Linked DNA regions of Homo sapiens: all the other regions are linked to region 3. The links are contacts of gene promoters, found by promoter capture Hi-C in human tissues and cell types (Jung and others, 2019). All regions are on one chromosome and are shown on one strand. Each heading gives the region's core, a stretch centred on a gene start or on the middle of the fragment in contact. The rest is flanking DNA. Distances are from core to core; before and after follow the strand shown.

The links. The method cuts DNA at HindIII sites, captures the fragments that hold promoters and counts their contacts. A contact is called where the count stands out against the background at its distance.
Region 1: a contact is called between a fragment that was not itself captured here and the fragment with the promoter of SLC2A11 in region 3, in 1 of the 25 tissues and cell types used here (dorsolateral prefrontal cortex).
Region 2: a contact is called between the fragment with the promoter of BCR here and the fragment with the promoter of SLC2A11 in region 3, in 1 of the 25 tissues and cell types used here (adrenal gland).

The regions. Positions count from the first base shown.
Region 1 is chr22:23,201,957-23,206,278 of GRCh38, forward strand. All of the region lies in intron 1 of BCR (BCR activator of RhoGEF and GTPase), which reads left to right. Among named protein-coding and RNA genes, the nearest start is that of BCR, 24 kb to the left of the region's middle. The HindIII fragment of the contact is 4,691 bases long and covers 1-3,829 here.
Region 2 is chr22:23,177,968-23,182,331 of GRCh38, forward strand. BCR (BCR activator of RhoGEF and GTPase) reads left to right here and starts at 2,542. Exons shown (of 23, transcript NM_004327.4): 1 at 2,542-4,272. The coding sequence starts at 2,994. It also overlaps a transcript of RSPH14 not described here and the pseudogene BCRP8. RefSeq lists an enhancer at 1,462-2,272 and silencers at 2,393-2,632, 2,703-2,972, 2,993-3,072. The HindIII fragment of the contact is 16,176 bases long and covers 1-4,364 here.
Region 3 is chr22:23,855,591-23,859,479 of GRCh38, forward strand. SLC2A11 (solute carrier family 2 member 11) reads left to right here and starts at 2,285. Exons shown (of 12, transcript NM_001024939.4): 1 at 2,285-2,439. The coding sequence starts at 2,410. The HindIII fragment of the contact is 17,543 bases long and covers 1-3,889 here.

The DNA.
Region 1 (4,322 bases), core at 234-2,733, 650 kb before region 3:
TTATGTGTAAATCTTTTTTATATAGTTAAGATGTTGCTGTGTAGTTGGGTGTCCGGCCTTAGTTAATGTGAACGTTTCCATGTATTAGTAAATCTTGTGTAAATATTATTTTTAAGGGCCATATTATTACTTTGTAGTGGAGTTATGGTTTAATTTATCTAATTTTAATGAATTTTTGTTGGACATTTCGAGTGGTTCTTTATGCAGCTGGTTAGTATAATGTTTCAGTGAACTTCTCTCTCTTTTTTTAAATAGCTTCACTGAGGTAATTCATGTACCATACAATTCAACCCTTTAAAGCAGCCAATTTAATGGGTTTTGGTATATTACATTATTACTTTTTAAAAATTATGGTGAAATATATATACAAATTTGACATTTTAACCACTAAAAATTAAAATTATGGTAAAATAACATAAAATTTACCATTTTTAGCCGCACAGCTAAATGGTGTTAAGTATATTCCTGTCATGCACCCATCACTATCATCCATCTCCAGAACTCTTTCCACCTTGCAAAACTGAAAATCTGTACTCATTTCCACCCATTAAAGAACAGTGCTTCTTCCCCCACGCCCAGTCCCTGTAACCACCATTCTACTTTCTATCTCTAGGAATCTGACGACTCTAGAAACTTTATTTAAGTGGAATCATGCAGTATTTGTCTTTTTGTGACTTATTTCACATCATGTCCTCAAAGTTCATCTGTGTTTTACTGTGTTTCAGAACCCCTTCCTTTTTAAGCTTGAGTAATAATTCAATTGTTTGTGTGTGTGTGTGTGTGTGTGTGTGTATATATATATATATTTAATCTATCATTCATTGATGGGCACTTGGGTCATTTTAACCATTTTTAAATGTACAGTTCAGTGGCATTAATTACATTCAGTGAATTTTTTTGTGGGGTTTTTTTTTTGTTTGTTTTTGAAACAGGATCTCGCTCTGCCATCTCACTCTGCATCTGCACTGGTGCAGTAAGAGCTCACTGCAGCCTTGACCTCCTGTGATCCTCCCACCTCAGCCTCCTGAGTAGCTGGGACTACAGATGCACATCACTACACTCATCTGTCGTTTTTTTTCTTTTTGTAGAGACAGGGTCTTGCTGTGTTGCCCAGGCTGGTCTTAAACTCCTGGGCTCAAATGATCTGCCCGCCTTGGCTTCTCCTGAAGTGCTGGGATTACAGGTGTGAGCCACCATACTTGGCCAAGTGAATACCTTTTTATATGAGTTTCTGCCCATGATGGGGTGGGCCTCTGTCACTGGATTTACCAGGTCAGAGAGGTGGATGGTCTTAAGACCCTTGATGGCTGCTGCCAGGTCACCTTCCAGAAATCCTGCCCCAGTTTACCCTTGGCTTTATGGTTAACTGCCTGCTCTTTTTTGACTTTTTTCTTGCCTCCTTCTGTTCACAGGATTGTACTGAAGCAGTTCCATCAGGTGCTAAAACGTCTGAGCTGTGTGGGGCCTTACCCTCCAAAAATCCAAAATTGTGATGTGGGATTTTCATTCCAGAGAAGCAGAATCTGAGATTAAGGTTTGCTTTGGGTCAGAGGAGTCTGTGCTAGACTGGGCTCCACGGTAATTCCCGATTCCTTGATGACCCTCGAAACAGTCCAGCTTTGATAGGGAGGAGCCCTGAGCTGGGGTCACACTGGTCCACTCTCTCATTCAGGAAGTTTCCTGAGGCCACTGGCTGTGTGACACTCAGTTCTTTGTCAGCGCTGTGGTTCTTGGTAGGGAAAGAACTTACTGTCCCCTTGTCTGTTGTGAAGTTTGCTAGTTTATTGCTGTTGTGGGCTACTTGTAACTGAATCTGAAAAGCATTTTGGCTTCTCTTCTGTGCATCGTGAGTTAGGTCTGCCAGATAGCATTGTCCAGTTAATTCTGGCTCATGGAGTTCCTGCTTGGCTTTCATTGAAGCTCCAAGGAAGCAGAAGGCCATGGCAGAAAAGGATTTCTACAAAGGGAAAGGGACTTGCATGGCTGCACTTGGCTGGCAGAAGCTGGGCTGGGACGGGAGGACAAACACCTCCCTGTGCAGGCAGTGGGTTCAGATGGTCTTGGCTGGAAGGAGGGCAGATAATGGTGAGACCACGTTTGGAGGGAGGGCAGCATGGTGTCATGGGCTTGGGGAGGAAAGGAGAGGAATGGCCCCTTCTTCAGCACTGACTAGTCGTCCTGCACCGTGGAGGGTGTTCCGTCTTATTTTCCAGCGCTCACAACTAGGAGCCAGCAGTTCAGTTTTAGCCATCCCAGCTCATGGATTATGGAGCTGGGACCCACGCTTGCTCCTCCTCTTGCTCTGCGTTGCCCATCTTAGCTGTGCCCTTGGCCGCCACTCTGACTCCAGTGAATCACGTAGACTCCTTGGGCCTCTGAATTCCTGTCCGTAAATGATGAAGCTGAATGGCAGCATTTTTAAGATCCGTTAGTTTTGTGATTCTAAATAAAATTAAGTCATGTTGCTCTGAGTTCCCAGAAAATTATTTTAAGATCCGTTAGTTTTGTGATTCTAAATAAAATTAAGTCATGTTGCTCTGAGTTCCCAGCAAATTATTTGGAAATCCCTCTTGGTGGATGTCCCAAAGCAGCCTTCCTGTAGGATCCTGGTTGTGTCTGGCTTCCTGCAGTAATGTGGATTGGGGTGGATTGGCCTCTGTGTGCACCCTTAATGGGAACCAGGACACTGCTTTGCTGGCTGATTTGTTGTCCTCCCTTACTGCCCACTGGCCAGTCTACAGGTCACCACCAGGACTGGAACAGATTTCAGAGGCCGTGCAGGTTTCATCTGGGGCAACGTGCCAAAGTGCAGAGCGTGGGCAGCGGGAGGCCCTGCCGTCCGCGTGGATGGGGGAGACGGCAGCATGGGGGTGTCTGCCAGGGCGGAGGTGATGATGTGCAAGCAGGTGGTTGGCAGCAGGAGGCCTGGTAGTGCCAGCTGGTGTCTTGCCAGCCAGAGCACAGCCCCGCTTGGTCAGGAATGCATGTGCTGAGGCCAGCACTGAGATGAGCAGGCATGCGTGTGTGGCCACCCCTATTTCTGTGCTATAGTGGGAGGAGCACATTAGGTACTTTGAGGCCATAATTTACCTTTGTTACAGATGACCAATTCCCCAACAGCCTCCCAGCCTTTTGCAGGCCCCACCTGGGATCAGAAGGCAAGGTATCCTTCCTGCAGGGAAAGCCTGTTAGTCTTTCCTGAGCATTCTTAGTGCCAGTTGGAGTAGGGGCTGTCTTGGTACTGAGCTGGCCGGTGCTGGAGATGGGCTGGTCAGTCTGGAGGGCATAAGGACAGGAAGGATACCGGCACTGAACGTTGTCACTCCTGTGGGGGTACAGATGCCTCAGTGGAAGCCACGCTTTCCTTCAGAATATTGCATTTGGTGGGCCTGTCTCAAGGTGCACTTTGACTCCTGAAGACCCTCCTTCTCCTCCTCTCACGGATCTGCCGGTGTTCCCTCTCTGGAAGGCTTGCAGGAGAGACAGGATCCCTCCCTTTACTGGAACTTTGCACTTGGGTTTGGCTTTGTGCTTTGTAAGGGGATCCCATTCAGCGTCCAGGATCCGAGCCTTGCTCTATTTCTGCAAGGAGCTGGTGGTTGCTGCTCGCCAAGGGGATACTCAGACAGCCAAAGCCTAGGCAGGATCAGAAGCTCAGGCAGCAGAGCCAAGATTTGAACCAATAATTTTTTTTTTTTTTTTTTTACTTTACTCTACAGTATTGGGATTGGCTGAACTTTCCTTAAATGACCAGATAGTAACTAATTTTATGTTTGTGGCTGAGAGGCAAAATCGATGCTACTTTGTGGATACTTACATAACCATTTGGAATGTGAGCATGTGAAACTATAAAGAGCATTCTTAAGGCCTAGGTCACATGAAAACAGGTGGCAGTGGGCTGGATTTGGCCTGTGGGCTGCAGTTTGCCAACCTGTGTTTCACAGCGAGCTGCCTCCAAATGCCTGGTGGTGATGCAATCGATGACAGAGCCAGGTGTGGGCGTCTCACATCTGTGCTCAGGAGCTCACAGGAGCTTCTCTCCTATAGAACCTGTGAGGCAGGTAGGGTAGTCTTCCAAACCCCATGAGGATTCTTTCCTCAGAGAAGTTGCCGGAGGAGGAAAAGCTGGATGAGAGATGGTCACTTGGTTTCTAACTTCCCTTTCTCTTCCCTGTTTCCTGCTGCTTCCCAGGGCTGAATGAATATTCCCTGAAACAAGGCTGGCCATGAGCTAATAATCGTTGAAGCCAAATGATGGGGTAATGGGCATTCATGATGCTGTGCTCTTACTTTTGTATTTGTTTGAAATTTTCCAGGATAAA
Region 2 (4,364 bases), core at 1,292-3,791, 680 kb before region 3:
TTTTAAATTTTTTTGTAGAGATGGAGTCTCACTATGTTGCCCAGGCTGGTCTTGAACTCCTGGGCTCAAGCGATACTCCTGCCTCGGCCTCCCAAAACACCAGGATTACAGGCATGGGCCACTGTGCCTGCCTTTATCATACCCATTTTAAAGAAGAGGCCATTGAGGGCTGGGTGCAGTGGCTCACACCTGTAATTCCAGCACTACAGGAGGCCAAGGCGGGCAGATCACGAGGTCAGGAGTTCAAGACCAGCCTGGCCAACACAGTGAAACCCCGTCTCTACTAAAAATACAAAAAACTAGCTGGGCGTGATGGCAGGCGCCTGTAATTCCAGCTACTTGGGAGGCTGAGGCAGCAGAATCACTTGAACCCAGGAGGCAGAGGTTGCGGTGAGCAGAGATCACTCCACTGCACTCCAGCCTGGGCAACAGTGTGAGACTCCGTCTCAAAAAAAAAAAAAAATAGGCCACTGAGGATGAGAGCACTGCTCAGTATGGCACTACTGGGATTCCAGCCCCTTTAGTGGCCAGGGCATCATTTGCATCTCAGTTTCCTCACATGCAAAATGGGCTATTTGCAGCCTGATGGGAAGGGGATGAGAAGGTCCGCTGGGTCCAAGGGACCAGGATGGCAGGAGGTTAGCAAGGCCTGCAGAGGGCAGCAGTGAGCTGCGCACCGCCCACCCAGCCTAGAAACTGGGGCCCATGGGTTTTCCAGGGCAGGAATGTTCTCCAGGGGCACTAATATTAACAGGCAATCACGAAATCGACCCCTACACACCATTTATCAGGTTGTGTTTTATGTTTGCCCCATCTGGGCATTTTATGCAGGATGCTCTCAACATTTTGTACCGTGGCCCACAGGACTGGGTGGAAGACAGGACAGCTCAGAGCAGGGAGTGAAACAAAATCTTTGATGGTTCTCTAGGGAAGCCTGGAAATCTGAGACAGGGCAAAGAGCAGGGAGTCTGATGAGCACAAAATTAAAATACCCAAACCAGCCTGCCGGGTCAGGGGAAAAGGAAGCAGGATTGGGCACATGAAGAACAGATGACAAAACTGAGGCTCAGAGAGGCTGAGAGAGACACTGCTGAGGTCACACAGCCAGGAGTCGGCAGGAAGCCCTGAACCCAAGCAGGGCTGGCCTGGCTACTAGCCTGGGCTCAGTCCTTTAGATTGGACTTCAAAGTATCTGCTCCAGATGACGCTGGCATTGGGAGGAGGGCATGATAATCCCTAACATCCACACAGGGACAACAGCACTTGGAGGCAGATGTGCTTCTCACTTCAAGGAAACTGAGGCAGAGAGGGAGAGGTGGTCAGGACTCAAGCCCAGTAATTCATTTGCCAAATCCTGTTTCCTTTTCCCCCAACCCAGCGGGCTGGTTTGGGTATTTTCAGTTTGTGCCCATCAGAGTCCCTGCAGAGTGCTCTCCACTGTGTCTCAGATCTCTGTGTCCCCAGAGAACCATCAAAGGTTTTGTTTCACTCCCTGCTCTGGGCTGTCTTCCACCCAGCCCTGTGAACCTCAGTGCAGGTTGGCCGCCCCCTTAGAGGGAGGCTAATCAGGGAAGTTCTGAGTCAGGTCGTCCTGGAAAAACTACATTGACCTCTGGAGCTCAAGAGAGGCCAGGGGACAAACACATGGCTCAGCACACAGGAAGGCAGGTGTGGGTATTGAGTGACCTGAGGGAGAAATCCCTATTTATCATCCATCATGTGGTCCTGCTGTGACAAACCCGTGTGGCAGCCACCCACAGCAGATCCACAACGTGAGAGGCCCGCTGAAACAAGGGTGCTGGCATTGGTTACTCAGCCTGGCCCTCCCTGCCTTGCGGGGTGACCTGCCTGGTCCTGGCCTCTCTGTGAGTTGGGCCCTGCTGGGTGGTCCCTAGTGTGCCCAGCCCTGAGGCTGGTGAGAGGCCAGGCTGTGAGGTGTGAGGAACTTACCTGCGTCTCCATGGAAGGTGCCCTCCGCATCGTTGGGCCAGATCTGCCTGGTCTTGCAGATGCCCACGATGGTGGCCTCTGACACGACGACTGGGCAGTGCCGGTGACGCTTATGGCACTGCGGCGTGGTAGGGGCAGAGGGGGGAGGTTGCTTCTGTCGGAGGACTGCTGCGAGTTCTGCCAGAGAGAGCAGCTCTTGTCCCGGAACATGAGGTAGGTGGTGGGGCTTGGGGACACGCGGCTGGACTGGCCGGAGAAGTCCTCCTGGCCGGAGGGGAGCCAAGTGTTCCTGTTCCAGGACTGCAGAACTGGCCCAGACCTCTGTATTGGAAAGGTCTTTATGGACCAGGGAGTCCGGTGTCTTTTTTACGGGGGACCCCTGGGCTGCGAGTTGCACAGTCCAATTCGCTGTTGTTAGGGCCTCAGTTTCCCAAAAGGCACAGGGACGGGGGGAGGGTGGCGGCTCGATGGGGGAGCCGCCTCCAGGGGGCCCCCCCGCCCTGTGCCCACGGCGCGGCCCCTTTAAGAGGCCCGCCTGGCTCCGTCATCCGCGCCGCGGCCACCTCCCCCCGGCCCTCCCCTTCCTGCGGCGCAGAGTGCGGGCCGGGCGGGAGTGCGGCGAGAGCCGGCTGGCTGAGCTTAGCGTCCGAGGAGGCGGCGGCGGCGGCGGCGGCACGGCGGCGGCGGGGCTGTGGGGCGGTGCGGAAGCGAGAGGCGAGGAGCGCGCGGGCCGTGGCCAGAGTCTGGCGGCGGCCTGGCGGAGCGGAGAGCAGCGCCCGCGCCTCGCCGTGCGGAGGAGCCCCGCACACAATAGCGGCGCGCGCAGCCCGCGCCCTTCCCCCCGGCGCGCCCCGCCCCGCGCGCCGAGCGCCCCGCTCCGCCTCACCTGCCACCAGGGAGTGGGCGGGCATTGTTCGCCGCCGCCGCCGCCGCGCGGGCCATGGGGGCCGCCCGGCGCCCGGGGCCGGGCTGGCGAGGCGCCGCGCCGCCGCTGAGACGGGCCCCGCGCGCAGCCCGGCGGCGCAGGTAAGGCCGGCCGCGCCATGGTGGACCCGGTGGGCTTCGCGGAGGCGTGGAAGGCGCAGTTCCCGGACTCAGAGCCCCCGCGCATGGAGCTGCGCTCAGTGGGCGACATCGAGCAGGAGCTGGAGCGCTGCAAGGCCTCCATTCGGCGCCTGGAGCAGGAGGTGAACCAGGAGCGCTTCCGCATGATCTACCTGCAGACGTTGCTGGCCAAGGAAAAGAAGAGCTATGACCGGCAGCGATGGGGCTTCCGGCGCGCGGCGCAGGCCCCCGACGGCGCCTCCGAGCCCCGAGCGTCCGCGTCGCGCCCGCAGCCAGCGCCCGCCGACGGAGCCGACCCGCCGCCCGCCGAGGAGCCCGAGGCCCGGCCCGACGGCGAGGGTTCTCCGGGTAAGGCCAGGCCCGGGACCGCCCGCAGGCCCGGGGCAGCCGCGTCGGGGGAACGGGACGACCGGGGACCCCCCGCCAGCGTGGCGGCGCTCAGGTCCAACTTCGAGCGGATCCGCAAGGGCCATGGCCAGCCCGGGGCGGACGCCGAGAAGCCCTTCTACGTGAACGTCGAGTTTCACCACGAGCGCGGCCTGGTGAAGGTCAACGACAAAGAGGTGTCGGACCGCATCAGCTCCCTGGGCAGCCAGGCCATGCAGATGGAGCGCAAAAAGTCCCAGCACGGCGCGGGCTCGAGCGTGGGGGATGCATCCAGGCCCCCTTACCGGGGACGCTCCTCGGAGAGCAGCTGCGGCGTCGACGGCGACTACGAGGACGCCGAGTTGAACCCCCGCTTCCTGAAGGACAACCTGATCGACGCCAATGGCGGTAGCAGGCCCCCTTGGCCGCCCCTGGAGTACCAGCCCTACCAGAGCATCTACGTCGGGGGCATGATGGAAGGGGAGGGCAAGGGCCCGCTCCTGCGCAGCCAGAGCACCTCTGAGCAGGAGAAGCGCCTTACCTGGCCCCGCAGGTCCTACTCCCCCCGGAGTTTTGAGGATTGCGGAGGCGGCTATACCCCGGACTGCAGCTCCAATGAGAACCTCACCTCCAGCGAGGAGGACTTCTCCTCTGGCCAGTCCAGCCGCGTGTCCCCAAGCCCCACCACCTACCGCATGTTCCGGGACAAAAGCCGCTCTCCCTCGCAGAACTCGCAACAGTCCTTCGACAGCAGCAGTCCCCCCACGCCGCAGTGCCATAAGCGGCACCGGCACTGCCCGGTTGTCGTGTCCGAGGCCACCATCGTGGGCGTCCGCAAGACCGGGCAGATCTGGCCCAACGATGGCGAGGGCGCCTTCCATGGAGACGCAGGTGAGTTCCTCACGCCACGTGCGTGGGCACACCTGCACGGGGGAGGAAAACCATAGACGAGTAGGGGATACAAAACAGAAGTTGGGAGGGAG
Region 3 (3,889 bases), core at 1,035-3,534:
GCCCGGCCGTCCCTACTGGGAAGTGAGGAGCCCCTCTGCCTGGCCAGCCGCCCCGTCCGGGAGGGTGGTGGGGGGGTCAGCCCCCCGCCCGGCCAGCCGCCCCATCCGGGAGGTGAGGGGCGCTTCTGCCCGGCCGCCCCTACTGGGAAGTGAGGAGCCCCTCTGCCCGGCCACGACCCCGTCTGGGAGGTGTGCCCAGCGGCTCATTGGGGATGGGCCATGATGACAATGGCGGTTTTGTGGAATAGAAAGGCGGGAAGGGTGGGGAAAAAATTGAGAAATCGGATGGTTGCCGGGTCTCTGTGGATAGAAGTAGACATGGGAGACTTTTCATTTTGTTCTGTACTAAGAAAAATTCTTCTGCCTTGGGATCCTGTTGATCTGTGACCTTATCCCCAACCCTGTGCTCTCTGAAACATGTGCTGTGTCCACTCAGGGTTAAATGGATTAAGGGCGGTGCAAGATGTGCTTTGTTAAACAGATGCTTGAAGGCAGCATGCTCGTTAAGAGTCATCACCACTCCCTAATCTTAAGTACCCAGGGACACAAACACTGCGGAAGGCCAAGGCCGCAGGGTCCTCTGCCTAGGAAAACCAGAGACCTTTGTTCACTTGTTTATCTGCTGACCTTCCCTCCACTATTGTCCTATGACCCTGCCAAATCCCCCTCTGCGAGAAACACCCAAGAATGATCAATAAAAAAAAAATAAATAAATTAAAAAAAAAAAAGAAAAAAATTAACCTATCAAAATAAAATATCAGCAGTTGAAACTAACAATGTATTAATAACAATAATATTATGACCAAGTTGCGTCTACCCCAAGAATTCAAGAATGGTTTACCATTAGAAAGTTTATTGATGTAACTGATCTCATTAACAGATTAAAGGAGAATACCCATATGATCATCTTAATAGATGCACGAAAAGCATGCAATAAAATACCTATTTATTATAACTGCTAATATTTTGTGTTTTTCCTTAAAAATGCAGTGTTTTTAGGAATTAAAGTTCAGAGCAGCAAAAGTCAAACAAAAACCAAGTCTGAGCAATAGAGCTACTACAGTGCCCATCACAGTGTCTGCTCAGGTGACTTCTTAAGGTCATGTCCAGCTCTATGTTTCTGTGACCACAAATAGCATCTTTGGCAAGTCTAGTTTCAGTTGGTCTTTGTCCAGCTCCTGGATTCCTCCATGCAGGGCCTGAGAAGCCCTGAGGGATAAAAGATTAATCCGGTTCAGTGGACTCTGTGGTTCCTCAACTCCAAGTGCCCCCAGCATAAGTCGGACCTGCCTCTCACGCAATGGATCCCCTGGCGGCAACCCGAGACCGGTTCTCCTACCCGCATTCCGCCAAGTCTCTCGCTCTGCCCAGGACGCACAGATGAGAGCGCTCCGAAGACTGGTGGGTCTATCTTTCGGTCTTTCCTAATTTTCCCGTCCTCTGGGGAAAGGTCGGGGATACCTGAACCAAAGTGTGTGTGTGTGGGGGGGGGGGGGTGTAGGTGGGGCGTGCATAGATGTGCACAACCAAGGGCTTGGCCCTCCGGAGAACGCCCAGGGGCAGTGGCCTCCGAGGTTCTGGCGGCCGGCAGTGGCGACCGGCGCAGGGAATCGCGCAGGGTTGCGGCTGAGGTCAGACCAGCGAGAGACAGAGACCCGCAGACATTTAGTCCAGAGACTGTAGCAAAGGAGGGGGACGAGGGGCCAGAGCCGGAATTTCGGGGGAGGACTTGGGAGCGCGGCGACCAGAGTCGCTTGCTGGCACTTGCGAGGGCGAATGCAGGGGCTTGGCCGAGATGACCTTGGACCAGAGCTCCCTTCCGGCCTGCAGAGATGAGCTTGGGGCTTAGCCGAGTAAGGAGTGAGCGGCTTTTCAGCCTCAGTGCTGCGGCAGAGGCGGATGGAGGATGAACTGGAGCCGTCCTTACGGCCTCGGACGCAGGTGAGCTCCCAGCGGCGGCGACAAACCCCGCGGCGGTGACCCCAAACCCCCCCCCCGCGGCGGCGACTCCCCCCCAACACGCTGGGGCGAACTCCCCAGCACCCCCAGCCCTTCTTAAAAACGCTGAGTCCGCGCATGCGCCTCAGGCGCCCTCCGCGACACTCTAGCGGCTCTGCGCTTCACTGCGCCTGAGCTTGAGTCTCAGGCCTTAGTCCCGGCCATCGTTTAGCGTTGCGCGAACCCTCAGCTGGTGCGGCCGCTCTCAATACCCACTGCGCTTGCGCTACAGCTTCGTCTCGACGGGTTTGCTCCTCTCAAACGCTCACTGCGCGTGCGCTAGCGCCTCTTTCACCACTGGGCGCTGCGCGCTGCCCTTCCCTCCGCGCACAGGCTGCCGGCTCACCGCTTGCTAATGGCAGCCGGGGTCTCCCTGGGACAGCAAGACCTCCGCTCAGGCCCCTCTTTCGAATGCTCCACGCCCTCCTGCGATCTAGAATGGTATGAATTCTCATACTTGCCCAGACCAGGCGTTTCAGATGAGGGATTGCGGACCTGAGTGAACTGCGCAGGTGCAGCCACCTGGGAGGCTTAACTAAGTCGTCAAATGTTCAAAAATATCGTGCTTGTATGTACAGTGGCGTTAGGTGCTAGGCTCAGATGTGCATAGGCAGGTGTTTACGCCCAGGGTCGGCCTGTGGGCCAGAGCAAGGTTGCTGGACCCTGGCATCCCAGCCCCCAGAGATGCTAAATCCTCTGCCGATCAGCCCTGACCTCAGAGGCAGTAAGCCCTCCGAGCGCTGCAATCCTGACTGCTCGCCCCCTCCCGAGACTGTTTCCCACCCCCGCCTCTTTCCTCCTCATGCTCCCTCAGCTCTGACCTGACGTCCTGCCTCACAGAGGGAAAGGGCGCAGCCAGAGGAGAGCGCCCGCACTGCACTGCCCACCGCTTCTAGGGGTTCCTTCCCAATCTGGACTGATTTCTTTAGGTATTTGCATGGCACATTCCCTCACCTCCTTTGTCTTGATTTGCACTTGTATTCCTTGACAGCCTTATTTAAAATAGCACCAACTAAGGTGGGAGGATCGCCCAGGAGTTCGAAGCTGCAGGGATCTAATAGGATCTCACCACTGCACTCCAGCGTGGGCGACGTAGCGAGACCTTGTCTCTAAAAAATAAAAATAAAATAAAATAAAATAAAATAGCACCACCTGGTCCAAACACTTCCTACGCCCCTTCACTGCTTTAAGTCTCTGTAGCACCAGCTGATGTACTATATATTTTGCTTGTTCATTTTGCGATTGCTTGTCTTTCTCTGCTGGAAGGAAAGCTCTGACAGCTCATGGATTTTGTCTGTTGTTCACTGCTGTATCCCAACACCTAGAACAGTAGGATTATTGACCATAATAGGGAGGCAATAAATCTTTGTTTGCTGAATTAATGGTCCCTATCGTAGCTAATGTCTGAATGCTTACCATGACCAGGCACGGTATAGGCAATCTCCATGCATGATCTCATTGAATTCAACGATTTCCTGTAGTCTTAGAGACCTGTCAATATCTCCTGCTACATGAGCTCAGCTGCCATCAAGCACTGTGTTCGCTGCTTCCTTCACATCTGCTGTCTTAAGGGAGCTCTCACTTCCATGCGGCCCCCGTGGAGCTGTAATTTGGCCTCAATGGGACCAGATGCCAGGTTTCTCACCTGGCTTCTTCCTAAGGCTTCCAGCCTTAGAGAAAGTTACTTAGGCCTTATTGGAACTATGGGCAGCCAGGGCCCCTGTCACCAACCTGTCTCCAGACCTATGGCAAGGCCTTCAGCAGGATTCTGCCCTCCAGAGCCACTTCCTCTGCTCCCCCAGCCTCCAGTGCAGTATCTCACTGAATGGTGAAAGCACAGCTGTCTCTTTCCCAGCTGTATCTTGCCCCCCAGCACACTTCCTGGCTGAGA